2 separate regions of the Homo sapiens genome follow, and region 1 is linked to region 2. Evidence: promoter capture Hi-C in human tissues and cell types (Jung and others, 2019). All regions are on one chromosome and are shown on one strand. The core of a region is centred on a gene start or on the middle of the fragment in contact, and the rest is flanking DNA. Distances in the headings are between cores, read along the strand shown.

Region 1 (6,754 bases), core at 4,248-6,747, 1.2 Mb after region 2:
TGTAAAGTTTCAGGAAAAAATTAAAATGCCCAGCACTTTCCTACAAGGTAAACATTAATTTCTGGAAGAAAAAAATGTGTGGCCGGAAAGGTGATATGTTTATAGAATTCTCCTTATGGAATGCCACCATGGAGTCCTATGCATTCTGGATTTAATTACTGCCATTAGCCTGGGGCCATGCTGGAGCTGCTTATTGAACATTTTGCTGCTTTGACTTAGAGATGGAGAAGTATAATAAATTCATAAAATATCTGGAATGCAAAATTTATAGGATTGCGATTGAATTTGAGAAATGAGTGGGGTATGTTGGGAATAGGTTTCTAATGTGGATAACTAGATAGATGGGGGCTCCACAAAAGTGTAGGAAACAGAATGAGAAGTAGGTTTGAAGGCAGGAAAGGAATCATATGATTTTAGACATTTTCAGTTTCACTTTTCTGTGGACTGTTCAGGGGAAGATGGCCATTAAGATAAAGAGTTGAGAAGCTCATGAGAAATACCGTGCTAGAGATAGAGATTTCAGGATTCCTCAGCATAGAAATGGGAGCTGAAACCACGGCAACAGAAAAAAATTGGCTCTTAATTTTCTCTAACTGATTGTTCAGGCATGGATCCCCTATTCAACTCTGGTACCCCTTTACTTGAAATTTCCAAGCCAGGTCCTCTCCATTCCTGCATCCAGTAACATCTTCTGAAATCCCAGCACATTTATGATTCACTTTCGGATCTCCTGGTGCTTCTTTCTGCCTGGGGTGGAGAAAGTGAGAGTGAGTATGTGTAGCATGAGGAAAGAAGAGGTAGGCAGAGGCAGGGGAACTCACTGAGGAAACAGAAAATAATTAATCATAAAAGCAGGAGCAACTCCAGGAGGCTGAGAGGGGAGAGCTTCAAGAAGGAAGGAGTGGTTAGAAAACAACTCCTTTGGATTTTCTTCTGAGCTGGTAAAATCTGAGTTTCCTTCTCCCAGAGGACAGTGACCACAATTGCCCTATTGCTTGCTGCTTGCTATGATATTTTTCATCTCTAAGAATATTTCTAGAAGGAGCCAGAGTGAAGTAAGATGAAAGGTCTCCCTTGGAAAAGTGTGATACATGAGAGAATGAACTACTTTGGGAAATTACATTTAAAATGATCCTCATACTAATTTATCCTATGGATGGGAGGCTCGGCTGGTTCCTTCTCAGATGTGCATCCCCTAGCAAGTTGCTTCATTGGCTTTCCACCTTGAGCAAGGCCGCTTTGCTCGGCATGGCTTGGCATCTGAGAATACCTTACTTGGTTGTCACCAGCTTCCTTGTCAACCACAAAGATGGGTGCATGTTACTTTGAAAGGAACCTTTACCCATATGTTTCAACTAGGTTATGAAAGTGAGCATTAAATTTTCAGTTTAGCAAAACTCTCAAGGAATGTGGGAAATAGCCATCCTCACTCCTTCTCTTGAGAAAGGGGTTTAGGGTTGAGGTGAGGATCATGGATAAAGTAGAAGGTCAGCAATGTCTGCCTTCCTGCCTTGCACATCACTTTGTAATTTTTTTTTTTTTTTTTTTTTTTTTTGAGACAGAGTCTCGCTCTGTCGCCCAGGCTGGAGTGCAGTGGCACAATCTTGACTCACTGCAACCTCTGCCTCCCAGGTTCAAGCAATTCATGTGCCTCAGCCTCCTGAGTAGCTGGGACTACAGGCACGTACTACCATGCCCTGCTAATTTTTTGTGTTTTTAGTAGACACAGGGTTTCACCATGTTGCCCGGGCTGGTCTTGAACTCCTGAGCTCAGGCAATCTGCCCACCTCGGCCTCCCAAAGTGCTAGGATTACAGGCATAAGCCAATTTTTTAAAGTCATTTTTCATTTTGTTCATAGTAGTTTTGATGAGACTATGTCCTAATATTCTCTTCAAATAAACAGTTTAGTCAGAACGCCCTGCTTTGGTAAAATAGATCCCAAGTACATGCCTTACAGATTGGAGAGGGACTGGATGGTTGGGATGGGATAGGACAGACAGCAGTGGCAGCAGTTCTTTCAGTGTGGAACAGACATGTAAGCCACTTGTGGCCGTGTATATTTTAAGGGCAATGGAAAAGGAGTTATTGAATATCACTGCGTTGGGTGCTTCCCACACACGTGTTATTGTGTCGGTATTATTGTTCCCATTTTACCTGAAAAGAAAATGACAGTGAGATGAACTTGTCCAAGGCCACACTGTAGGTCACAAATATTCTGACTCATGAAGTTCCCAATGCAGGAAGATTTCTTATGAAAAAGGTGAGGCATACACTTGATTTGAGTAACACAATGCCTTGATCAGAGCGTTATTTTTGTTTCAGTGCCAATAACCACAGTATTTTTCCAGCGAGATACTGATGTTTTGTCTTTTTTCCTCACTTGCTCAAATGAGTCAGTCACAGACTTTTAAAAGCTTAAAAAGGTAATTGAATAAACTGTCCTTGTAAAAGCACTCTGGGCCTAAGGAGGTTTGACAGTTCTGGCTTATGTTAAAGACAGAGAATTATATTTTAAAGATAATTGCATGCTCTTTTTGATAAACCAAAACATTCACAAACACAGGCACAGTGTCAGCCTCATCTGCTGAGCCAGCTGATGGCTGCGATTAGCTTTGGGGTAATGACTCTTCTATTACTTAGGGAGAAGAGAGTCCTGCAGGATCTTAGTGGGTAAAGGGAGAACAGACTGGCTCAGTGGGCCAGCCTTCACATGTAACTCCACACTGCTTTCGGAATCCAGTACGTTCATTCAGAAGGCTGTGAGTGAACTCTACACTACACACTCATAGTTAAGTTATACAGGAGGCCCTAGGAAATGACACACAACTAAAGTAACACAGCCACTTGCAGTATATTATTTCATCTCTCTGATTGCTACCATAATATGTATTGAACTAATACTCACTGATTGCTCCTTCTCTGTGTCCTTTGCTAGTTTGTCCATATCTTCCAGATCTCCATGCTTTCCAGGGCTAGGATCCACTTCTCTCTATCTGATTCTTTTACTGAGCTATCTTATCACAGGTCACCAAATACCATCTGGAAGCTGGTGACTTCCAAAGGTAAATCTTCAACCCAACTTCTCCTCCAAACTCCAGGCTCATATCTAATGGCCTCCTTGACATTTCCTCTTGATTTCTAATAGACTTTCTAAACCCAATATGTTCAAAATGGACTGACTTCCTAATCACCAACCTTCCACCTTCCATCAGCCTATTTCTTTTCTGTATCTTAGTAAAAATCTGTCCAGCTTCTCAGACTAAATAAATTTTGAATTATCCTTTACTTCTCTCTTTTTATTACTGTCCACATCTAAACCATCAACACATTATATTAGTTCTATCTCTAGAATATATCTGGAATCCAACCACTTTTCACCATGTATTTCTGTATCATCTGAGTCTGAGCCACTGTCGTCTCTCATCACCCTTACACAGCAACCAGAGTGATCCCTTTAAATGAGATTTAAAAGACATTACGTTCTGCTCAAAACCCTCCAGTGGGTTCCTTATCACTTGGAACATAAGTGAAAATTCTTACAATGGCCAACGATACTCCCTGCTCCTACCACCACCCTATCTCTTCTTTGACCATATCTCTTCCTATTCTTCGTCTGGCTCACTTCACTCCTCCCACACTCATCTCCCTGCTAGTCATTGAACATATCAGGCACACTTACTAAGAAGCTTTGTTAAAACACAGATTTCTTCCATGCAGAAGGTCTGGGGTGTGACTGGTTAATTTGCATTTTTAGAAATGCAAATTGTTAGAAATACAAACCTAGAAAGGTTCTAGGTGATCTAACTACGTGGTGCTATGGTGATGAACCAAATCTCTGGGTGAGTGGATGGAAGCTCTGACTTACTGTGTTTGCTGATTTCTGTGATGTGAATGCTTCCACCACAGCCAATATCAAACTGATCAACTGGATCACACAATTCCTGAAGATTTAACAATCGGCTATCACGAGTGCACCACCATAGCCTCTGGTCCAGAAGAGCTCTCCAGGGCCTACTTGGGGGAAAGAGTGAGGAAGGGAGCAATTATCTATTGAGCATTTATGATATGCCAGTCACTGTTCTGGTCCTTGACATAAAATGTTTCACTTGGTCCTCAACAAATGTATGAGATTATGTTTTGCAATTTTAGTTTTTTAGAGGAGGAAACTGAGAAGTAAAATTACTTGAGTCACACCCCTGAGATTTGAAACTAGAAACCCAAAGTCCTTCTCCTTCTAAAACAAAACACAACAAAACAATACCTTGGGCCTCTTTGGGTGGCACCATATCACTGAGGACATCACTGTAGGGCTGGGGGATGAAAGATGGGAGAAGCTGAAGGTAACCTATGGCATAGATATAGTCTGACCTTAAAGGTGACAAAATATTGTCCAATTGAGTTTTTAGAAGGAAGCTGTGATGAGTAAACCTATACTTGAAGTAGGTTAACCACGTGGGGGCTGCAGCTCTCTGAGCTAATCACAGCCAATGAGCCAAGTGCAGCTAGAGAACATGTTCCCTTCCCTGGTTACTGCCTGATAATCCAGGAACTAGTAATTTCAGATCAAAGGAGACTGCAAAGCTCATATATTGAGAATTCTGATGCCAGGTGCTAAAATAACCTTCCTTTGAGGGCAAGTAAATTCCCTCAATTGATGGAACAGAAGTTGCTCCAGGCAAAGGTCCCACTTGTTCCTCTGCTTAATTGCCTTGCTACCCTCCTTCTGGATGGAGCTTCAATCACTGTATTTCCTAAGCTTGGAACCCCTGGGACAGGTTTCCACTGGCATGCTTTTTAAGCAACTGGGGTGATTATCCAGGCATCAAAATTGCTTTCCTCGGGCTTTTTTTAAAAGCCAAGTTTAGTTTCTGCTCTTCTGAATCGTCTGGAACACTGCCCTCTGCCTCACCATCCTGTGCCAGTGGAGACCTGGTCTCAGGCTGGGCAGCTGAGCTACCTGGCCTAAACAAAAAGGCTCCAGGCCCTAAAGGTTACAGACCTTATGCTGACCCAAGAGTCCAAGGCAATGCAAAGCAAAGTCCAGGGTGATGAAAATGAAGTTGCATTTTCTGAGCTGCCTTGTTCTTCACAGTTTTTATTAGATTATTTTATGGAGAGCTCTGGACTCTTGCAGCCCCTGAGGCATTTCGATGGAGCTTAAAGTGGCAGAGGAAAAGTAACCCTGAAGAGGAACAGGGAAGGCTCCATCTCTCTTCTGTAGATGGGCAAGCAAAGGATATTCCATTTCTTTCGTCATTACACATTCATTCATTTATTCACTCACTCATTCATTCAAATGCCGTTAGAGCAAGTACAGTGGAAAACTAGAGGAAGGAGACATTACTCTGTAGATGAGAGAACACTTCTTGGAAAGCTTTAAGAATAGCTTTTCGAGATATAGTTATGAGGACATGCTAGGTGGGAGGAAGGGAGAGACCCAAGGCTCAGAACCTCCAAATGTCAGAATGTGTGTGTGTGTGTGTGTGTGTGTGTGTTTAACCCATTCTGAAGGACAAGAATCAAAGCCACCAAAATGTGGAATTCTTTTAACTTGTTATGTTTCATCTAAGCCCTTCTTACAGTCCTCAGGACGGACTGAGAAATGTGCTGCCATTTCCTTTTCTCCTCGTAAGGCCTCCTGTACCTCAAAGCCAAAAAGCAGAAATGGATATAAGGTTTTGTCTGACATGAATCTGCTTAGAGAGAGTGAAGGCTAACTTTTGGAGTTCATATGACTACTTCTTACCTGCAGGGGGTTCTTTGAGAGGACCTAATAACAGAGAATCGAAATGTCACCTTAGTGACTAGATGACCTAGGGATGCTGAGCCAAGACTAAGCACACTCACCCACCCAAGCCCTGACAGGAGGAGCGGTGGAGGCGTGGCCCCTGGTGTGAAAGAAGCAAGGTGCTGGGAGAAGCAGGCTGTGTTTATTCTCCCCATTACCTCATTACCACTCCACTTCCCCCAGGAGAGTGCGAAAAGGCAGGGTGGGGGGCGGGGAGCCAGACCAGCATTGTAACCCCAGTGGGGTCCCCTCCACCAGGACAATGGGAGTGAGGAAGAAGCATTTAACCCTAATATCATGCACTGGTTAGAGAAAGGAAACGTGGCTGGAGGTTATGGTTATCCTCAAAAGAGGAAAGGTGAACTTCTTCTACAAATGAGGGTCATCATAAAACATTTCCAGCGGAGCGTTTCTTTTTTCTTCTTCCATGAGATGTAGAGATGGGAAAAGCTTACCTTACAGAAACTAGTCCCCGGCAGGCAGCCGACCCTCCGTGGGTTCTGTTGACAGTGATTCCTGGCAGGCAAAGGAGGAGTGAGAAGAGGAGTAAGAAGGGTCAAGAGAGAAAGGGCCTGGTGCAGCGAGAGATGGGCCGGGGGAGCCTTTGAGCCTTTGGGAATGAAGCAGATGTAACTTGACTGTATCTCTCCAGTACTTTATAAAAGAGAAAAGGATGATGGCAATTTTGTAGGGCAAGAGTAGAATAAGGCTGAGTTTGTGCTGTCTTATGCCTTCAAAAGAGAAGGAAGGAAAGAAGGACCAAATATGGAATTGGACTTCATTTCTAAGCGTGAACCTTCATCACTTTCATCAGTAGCCATCTGGCATGCTGCGTTCCATGGCATTTCTCTAAAATGACTGGCAACCTCCAACAGTTTCCTTGGCACCGCCACTGAGAAGCCTCCGTCCTCAGCGACGTGCTGGAAATAGTCAAAGCTCTACACACGCAGGTAATAATACTTGGC
Region 2 (6,385 bases), core at 54-2,553:
CCACTGGCCATTTGAAAAATAGGTGTCCACTAAGTTGTAAAGATCACAAAAATGTTGACATATTTCATTATATAGTCAAAAATAAATTGTTAATATAATGCTTCTTTTACTAGAAAAGTCTTTAAGTACTGGCAAGCTGTCAAGCTCAAGCTGGTGGATACAAGTGTAATAAAATTTGTATTTTTAGGTGAAAATTCAAAGAATTACACTAGTGCTTTTTCCGGAGACAACCATTTCACTTGGGCATGTAGCGGCAGTAGTTTCCATTTTTTCACACATATTCTTTAAAAGACGTGTAAGCAAGGATGGATTTGAAAAAAAAATACAATTTTTAGTTATTTGTGAAGGACATTTTTAAAGTGAAACTAGCATACTTTAAAACCTTAAATGTTGTATGATGTGAAGAATACAAAATGCAACTACCAGTACAAGACTGGCGCCACTGCCTTGATTGCTGCTAAGGTGTCAGCAGTTTAATCTTTTACGTTACCAGTGCAAATGGCAACAAAGTGAAAAAGGTCAAGAAACTCTTAATATTATTACGAAAATCGTTTTGACCTTGCCAACTTACTGAAAAGGTCTCGGTACCCTTAGGGATCTGCGGAGGGCATTTTGGGAGCAGCTGCCATGGACTCACTACTGTTGTCTCTCATTAGGTTGCAAGTTCTATGTGAACTGTCTTTAACTGTCTGTTACGTGCCCTTGCCTAATAGTGCCTGGGACATAGCACTCAATAAACATCAACACCTGTGGAACGAGGGAATTAAAAACAGGTTATAAACAACCCCTGCACAGCCTTCATCTTACTGCCTCTTTCCTTAATTCAACCTGAACCTACGCATTTTGTAAAATTTTGTTTTTTTCACAATTAGGACGCCTGCCAACTTTTAAAAATAGTTGGAGTTGGGGTGCTGCCTGTATGTGATAAGGCTGCCCTATAGTTTGGTCAAGTGTTCTTCCGTGTTGTCCAAGAGTCATTCCTTCTTTACAGTCCCGCACCAGTAGGCCAGGCCGCTTGGTTTCCCAATCCGAGACCGGAAGGAACCGGGTAGACATGAGCACAAGACTCTCATCGACTTTTGGGGAAAACAAAAACACCGATAAAAATCCAGGCGGTGAAACGAGCAGCAACAGCCCCAGGGACCCGGGAGCTGGAGGCCGCAGCCGCGCGAGAACCGCCGGGTTGCCGGGGCGACGCTTCCGGCTGGCGCGCGCAGCCCCGGGAGCAGGGGAGTTGTGAAATGGGCGGCTAGATCTGCCCGGCGCTGTGAATTCGCCAGCGGGAGCGCGCTCGCGGCCGCGCGTTCTCCGCTTTCCCGGCTCCGTCGCTGACGCGTCGTAGACGTTGGGGAGCGGGAAGGCAACGGCAGCGGGATCGGGATGAACAGCGGCGGCGGCTTCGGTTTGGGCTTAGGCTTCGGCCTCACCCCCACGTCGGTGATTCAGGTGACGAATCTGTCGTCGGCGGTGACCAGCGAGCAGATGCGGACGCTTTTTTCCTTCCTAGGAGAAATCGAGGAGCTGCGGCTCTACCCCCCGGAGTAAGTGCTGGAGCTCGGCTGGGGGAGGGGCGCGGGCGCCATAGAGACCTCGGGAGCCGAGGCGTGGAGGAGAGCGCGGACGCGGGCGCGCGGTGCATGTCACGTGATCGCGCCGGCTTACCTTGGTGCCCATATTTGATTAGGGCACCCGGGTTCCGCCGTCCTGCTCTCCTTAGTCGGATTTGGGGGGTTAACTACTGCACGGAGCCCTTACCAAGGATTTAGAATGGTTGCCCTTTCTGTGCCTCCGGGACTTGTGTTCGCTGCTGGGTCTTCGAATTCCGTGCCCCCACCCTCTTATTTCCCCCCGAACTTAAGATGGCCGCAGGTGGGCCCGGAACAGCCCTCATGGCAAACGTCTCAGAGCGTTTTTCCACTCTGAAAATCGCGGAGACCGCGCCTGAGCCACAGTCCAGTTTTTAAGGCCTTGGTGTCAGGCCGTTTTGCTGACGAGAAAGCCTGCTGCTGGTGACAAGATGGAACTGGGGCTGTGTTTGTTTCCCAGGACGGTCGCACAAACTTAGCATTTTGGTTTATCTAACCGAGCGCATCCATGTTCCCAAAGATCATGTCTGTTAGCCCTTTTGACAGCAGATTAAATTTTCCTCCTGAAAGGTCACACTGTCCCAAAGCTTTCAGAAAAAGTGTAAGTCGGTGCAGGGTTATCCCTCCCGTATACATTTAAAGTCCAGATCTTGGCTGGCATTCACAGCTCGCGGCCACTTCCCAGATAGTGTATTTTGGAATGGTAAAATTTCCCTCGTACGATATTATTTAGAAAACTCGCAAGGGGTTTGTAGGTTGTTCACATTCTTGCACACAAACTTTTTTTCTTTTTTAATGGTAGATCTTACAGTATTAAGATCCTCCGTTTTTTGTTCATTATATCAAAATCCTTTGAGGGAAGGGGTAATTGTTACCCAAGATTTATTTCTTTAAAAAAATTTTGATTTATTTCCTAGTGATGCATTTAGACCTATTTTTCTTTAGTTTTCTATCTCAGGTTATAACAGTGCTGTTGCATAACTATATAAAAGTTGTGTGGATATTTAAAATTTACTTTTTAAGTTTTTCTTCTCTGCTTTTTGTTTTGGAATATTTCATGCATACAGAAAAGTTGAAAGAGTAATACATTGAACATCCATGTTCCTTTTACGAGCATTTTGTCTGTTTTTGGCTACAGTTGATTATTAAAATTTCCCCAGTTATTTTAATAATGCTTTTTTGTCTGCTTTTGATCTAGTATGTAATTAGATAACACTGTCTCCCTTGAATATGCCAAGTAATCCATGTATTAATAGTTATCTCCTTTAATCTAGGACAGTCCCGTCCCCTTTTAAAGATTCTAAAGTCGTGACATTGATATTTTGTTTTGTAGTTCATTTTGTCTTGTAATATGACTCATAATCTGAGTTTATATAGATGAGATATATAGATGAGGTATATAGAGATATGTGTATATATATATCTTTATATTCGTGACGAGATTCAGGTAATACATTTTTGACGAGAATACTGCATAAGTGCACGCACGTACATTTTGATTGATTAACCGTGGCATTATTGCTTTAATTATCTTAACTTTTGGAAATGCTTTCAGCCATCTCAATTTAAGTTCTCAGAACATTTCTTAATAGTTGAGAATAATTGAGAATTGTTTGGGGGAGTGCCGTATCCTGCAGGCATTGGAATCAATCAGTAAAATACTTTGTACATGAACCTTTGTAAATCTTGCTTTCAAGGCTGTGGTAATAAGGTATCTCATAGGTAGAAGAAATATATTGGAGAATGTTCTTCATTATCAACATAATATTTATTTGGTTGAAACCTGGGTTTGGGTGACAACACATTGCCATAACTGACAGTAATGGGCCACTTTTTTGAAATCAGATGTTATTACTTGGAATTTAAAAGTCAAAGAGAATAAAAAGTTCTTCACTTAAACATATGGAAGATTACGGTAGTGTATTTCACAAACTGTAACACATTAAGCAAAATTGTTGCATACGTGTAATATATATAGGCCAGGCAAAATCCTTAACTAGTTTTTCCCTAAGTGCAATACTAGATCCCTCATTCATGTTTTGCAGCAATACTGACATGCTTTATTCACAGGTTTTCTGCTTCGTAATGAAGTTGTCATTGCCTGGTCCTTATATTAGAAGACGTGTTTGCAAATTTGGACTGAAATGGATACAAAATGCAATAGTAGTAGTTGTATTGAAAATATATTGTTTTGCAGTGTCACATAAATTATTTTATGACATCTTTAGAGTTGAGTAGAAATTTAAATTGTTTTAAAATTGGAAATATATTTATTTTCAAATACATATTTCCAGGTATATTGGAAATACATTAATAGAATGTGAAAATAGTTTCTCATTAAAATTTTATGATTGAGCCAGGTGTGGTGGTGTGCACCTATAGTCCTAGCTACTCAGGAGGCTGAGGTGGGAGAACAGCTTGAGCCCAGGAGTTTGATTCCAACCTGAGTAACATATTGAGACCCCTATCTCTTAAAAAAAAATGACTTAAATGACTTAAGTTGCTAATATGAAAATTCAGATTTTAAATTTAATTCTTTTGGCATGATGCAGTGGTTGAGTTTCATCTTTATCTTTTAAACGTTAAGAATTTTTTAAGGCTAGGGAATTCTTGTGAACATTCACTGTAAGCATTAAGAATTCTTATTTGTAGTTTGTCATCCTTTTTTTGTGCTGCCAGTTGATAAATATGTAGAATTACTATTAACTTTTTGCACAATAAATCAATCTCACAGCTTGTGAAACTTTCTTACACAAGTAAGAAATCCTTGTTGTTTTTTCAGTAAATTTTTCATTGAGGTTTAATGTACCTACAGAGAAGTGCACAGGTCGTAAGCGCAGGTTGATGAATCTTTACAAAGTAAACATACCTATATAACCAGCACACAGTCAGGATTATCTGCACCCTGTAAGTTCCCCGTGACCCCCTTCAAGTAACTAAAACCTGAAGGGTAAGCCTACCCTGATTTGTAACACTAGACATTTTTCCTGTGTTGATTTTTTTTGCTTGTTGATTTCCGTCACTTCTCTGGTCTTCTAAAGTTCTAAGAAAGAATGGAAAAATCTGTCAACTACTTAAGTTTATTTAGTTAAAAAAAATGTAACCACTAAAGCCACTTTATAGAAAATAGAGAAAAGGAAACAGCACTTGTGATCCCACCACTCTATCAAAGCTTCTCTCCATTTCCCTGTAGTCCTTTTCACATGCGTTAATAAATATTGGACATATTACCTCATTGGTTTTAAAAATAATTGTATAGTGCTATCATTATGTAATATATGTAATATAGCGTAATCAAAGGAATCACACTGTTATTTTACTTTTTTCACTTTGTCATAAGCATTTTCCATATTGCTGTCTTATTTATAGTAATATTTAGAGATTAGTAATTTCTGAGTGTATTGTGTGTTTTTGAAATTCTATTGTTGGATATTTTGATTGCTTTTTTTGGTATTACAAATTAGTGGATTTTAGCTAGAAATTGGGAGGTGTGTCTTTTTGATTGTCAACAATGATTAGAGGGCCTGTTGGCATTTAGTGGGTAAATGTTAGCAACTTATAAGTAGTCTTAAACAGGATGAATTGTGCTAATCCATAGGGCCACTGAAGCCCAGTGAAGAAACCCTGTTATAAATAATGCACCAACTAATATTTTTGTACATGATACTGTATGCTTCGCTCATGTTTTGGCATATCTTTTTTGGTAGGTCCTCTGTCCTCTAAAGGATGTGTATTAATGTACTGATAAAATACTGGACATATTATTACCTCATTGGTTTTAAAAATATTGTATAGTGCTATCATTATGTTTAATAAAAGACAAAATAACCAGTTAGGGCCAAGAAATTTAATTGATGCCCAAAAAGTTGGTTCTTTGGTTTCTGCGTGTACTACCCACTGAAAAGTTTTAATTTTTTTTGAAAAATTGATAAGATTTTGTATTTTAAAAAACCAAAACTTTAAGTCAACGAATGAGGTCAAACTAAAATCTGCTAAATTTGGGTACTGCTATTTTCTTCTTAAAATTTATTTCTAAAATTTTATTTATTTATTTAGTTAAGTAGAGACAGGATTTCACCATGTTGCGCAGGCTGGACTCAAACTCCTGGGCTTAAGCAGTCCGCCTGCTTTGGCATCCTAAAGTGCTGGGGTGACAGATGTGAGCCACTGTGCCTGGCCTGCTAGTTTCTATAGATGCATACATTTAGACCAAATGGAATATGTCATCCCTTTTTATGTGTTTTTTTTTCCCCCAAGGTCTTCTTCTGTTGCCCAGGCTGGTCTTGAACTCTTGGGCACAAGCAAGTACACATTTGTTTGATGAGCTATCTGTTTGTTGGCTTGCTACTCTAATAATTTTAGTTTATAATGGTCAAAATAAAATAGTGTTACCTTGCCTGAAATTTTCAAATATTTGCATTTTTATAAAGTAAATGTAAGTTGGTCTTTATTTTAAGGAAGGTAATTGGAAATGAAGATTAAGAAAATTGGCCGGGTGCAGTGGCCCACGCCTGTAATCCCAGCGCTTTGGGAAGCCGAGGCAGGCGGATCACGAGGTCAGGAGTTCGAGACCTGTCTGGCCAACATAGTGAAATCTTGTTTCTACTAAAAATACAAAAAATTAGCTGGGTGTGGTGGTGTGCACCTGTTATCCCAGCTACTTGGGAGGCGGCAGGAGAATCGCATGAACCCGGGAGGCGGAGGTTGCAGTGAGCCGGGATCCCGCCATTGCACTCCAGCTCGGGTGACAGTGTGAAACTCTGTCTCAAAAAAAAAAGGAAAAGAAAAGAAAAGAAAAT

What was found. Contacts are between HindIII fragments. The study calls those that stand out against the background at their distance.
Region 1: a contact is called between a fragment that was not itself captured here and the fragment with the promoter of SREK1 in region 2, in 1 of the 25 tissues and cell types used here (hippocampus).

The regions. Positions count from the first base shown.
Region 1 is chr5:67,359,810-67,366,563 of GRCh38, forward strand. It overlaps LOC124900989 (a long non-coding RNA gene), which reads right to left and starts at 6,494. Exons shown (of 2, transcript XR_007058799.1): 1 at 6,245-6,494; 2 at 1-747. The HindIII fragment of the contact is 4,893 bases long and covers 3,052-6,754 here.
Region 2 is chr5:66,142,997-66,149,381 of GRCh38, forward strand. SREK1 (splicing regulatory glutamic acid and lysine rich protein 1) reads left to right here and starts at 1,304. Exons shown (of 12, transcript NM_001077199.3): 1 at 1,304-1,541. The coding sequence starts at 1,381. RefSeq lists a silencer at 1,085-1,154 and enhancers at 1,335-1,614, 1,875-1,934, 1,995-2,044. The HindIII fragment of the contact is 17,400 bases long and covers 1-3,465 here.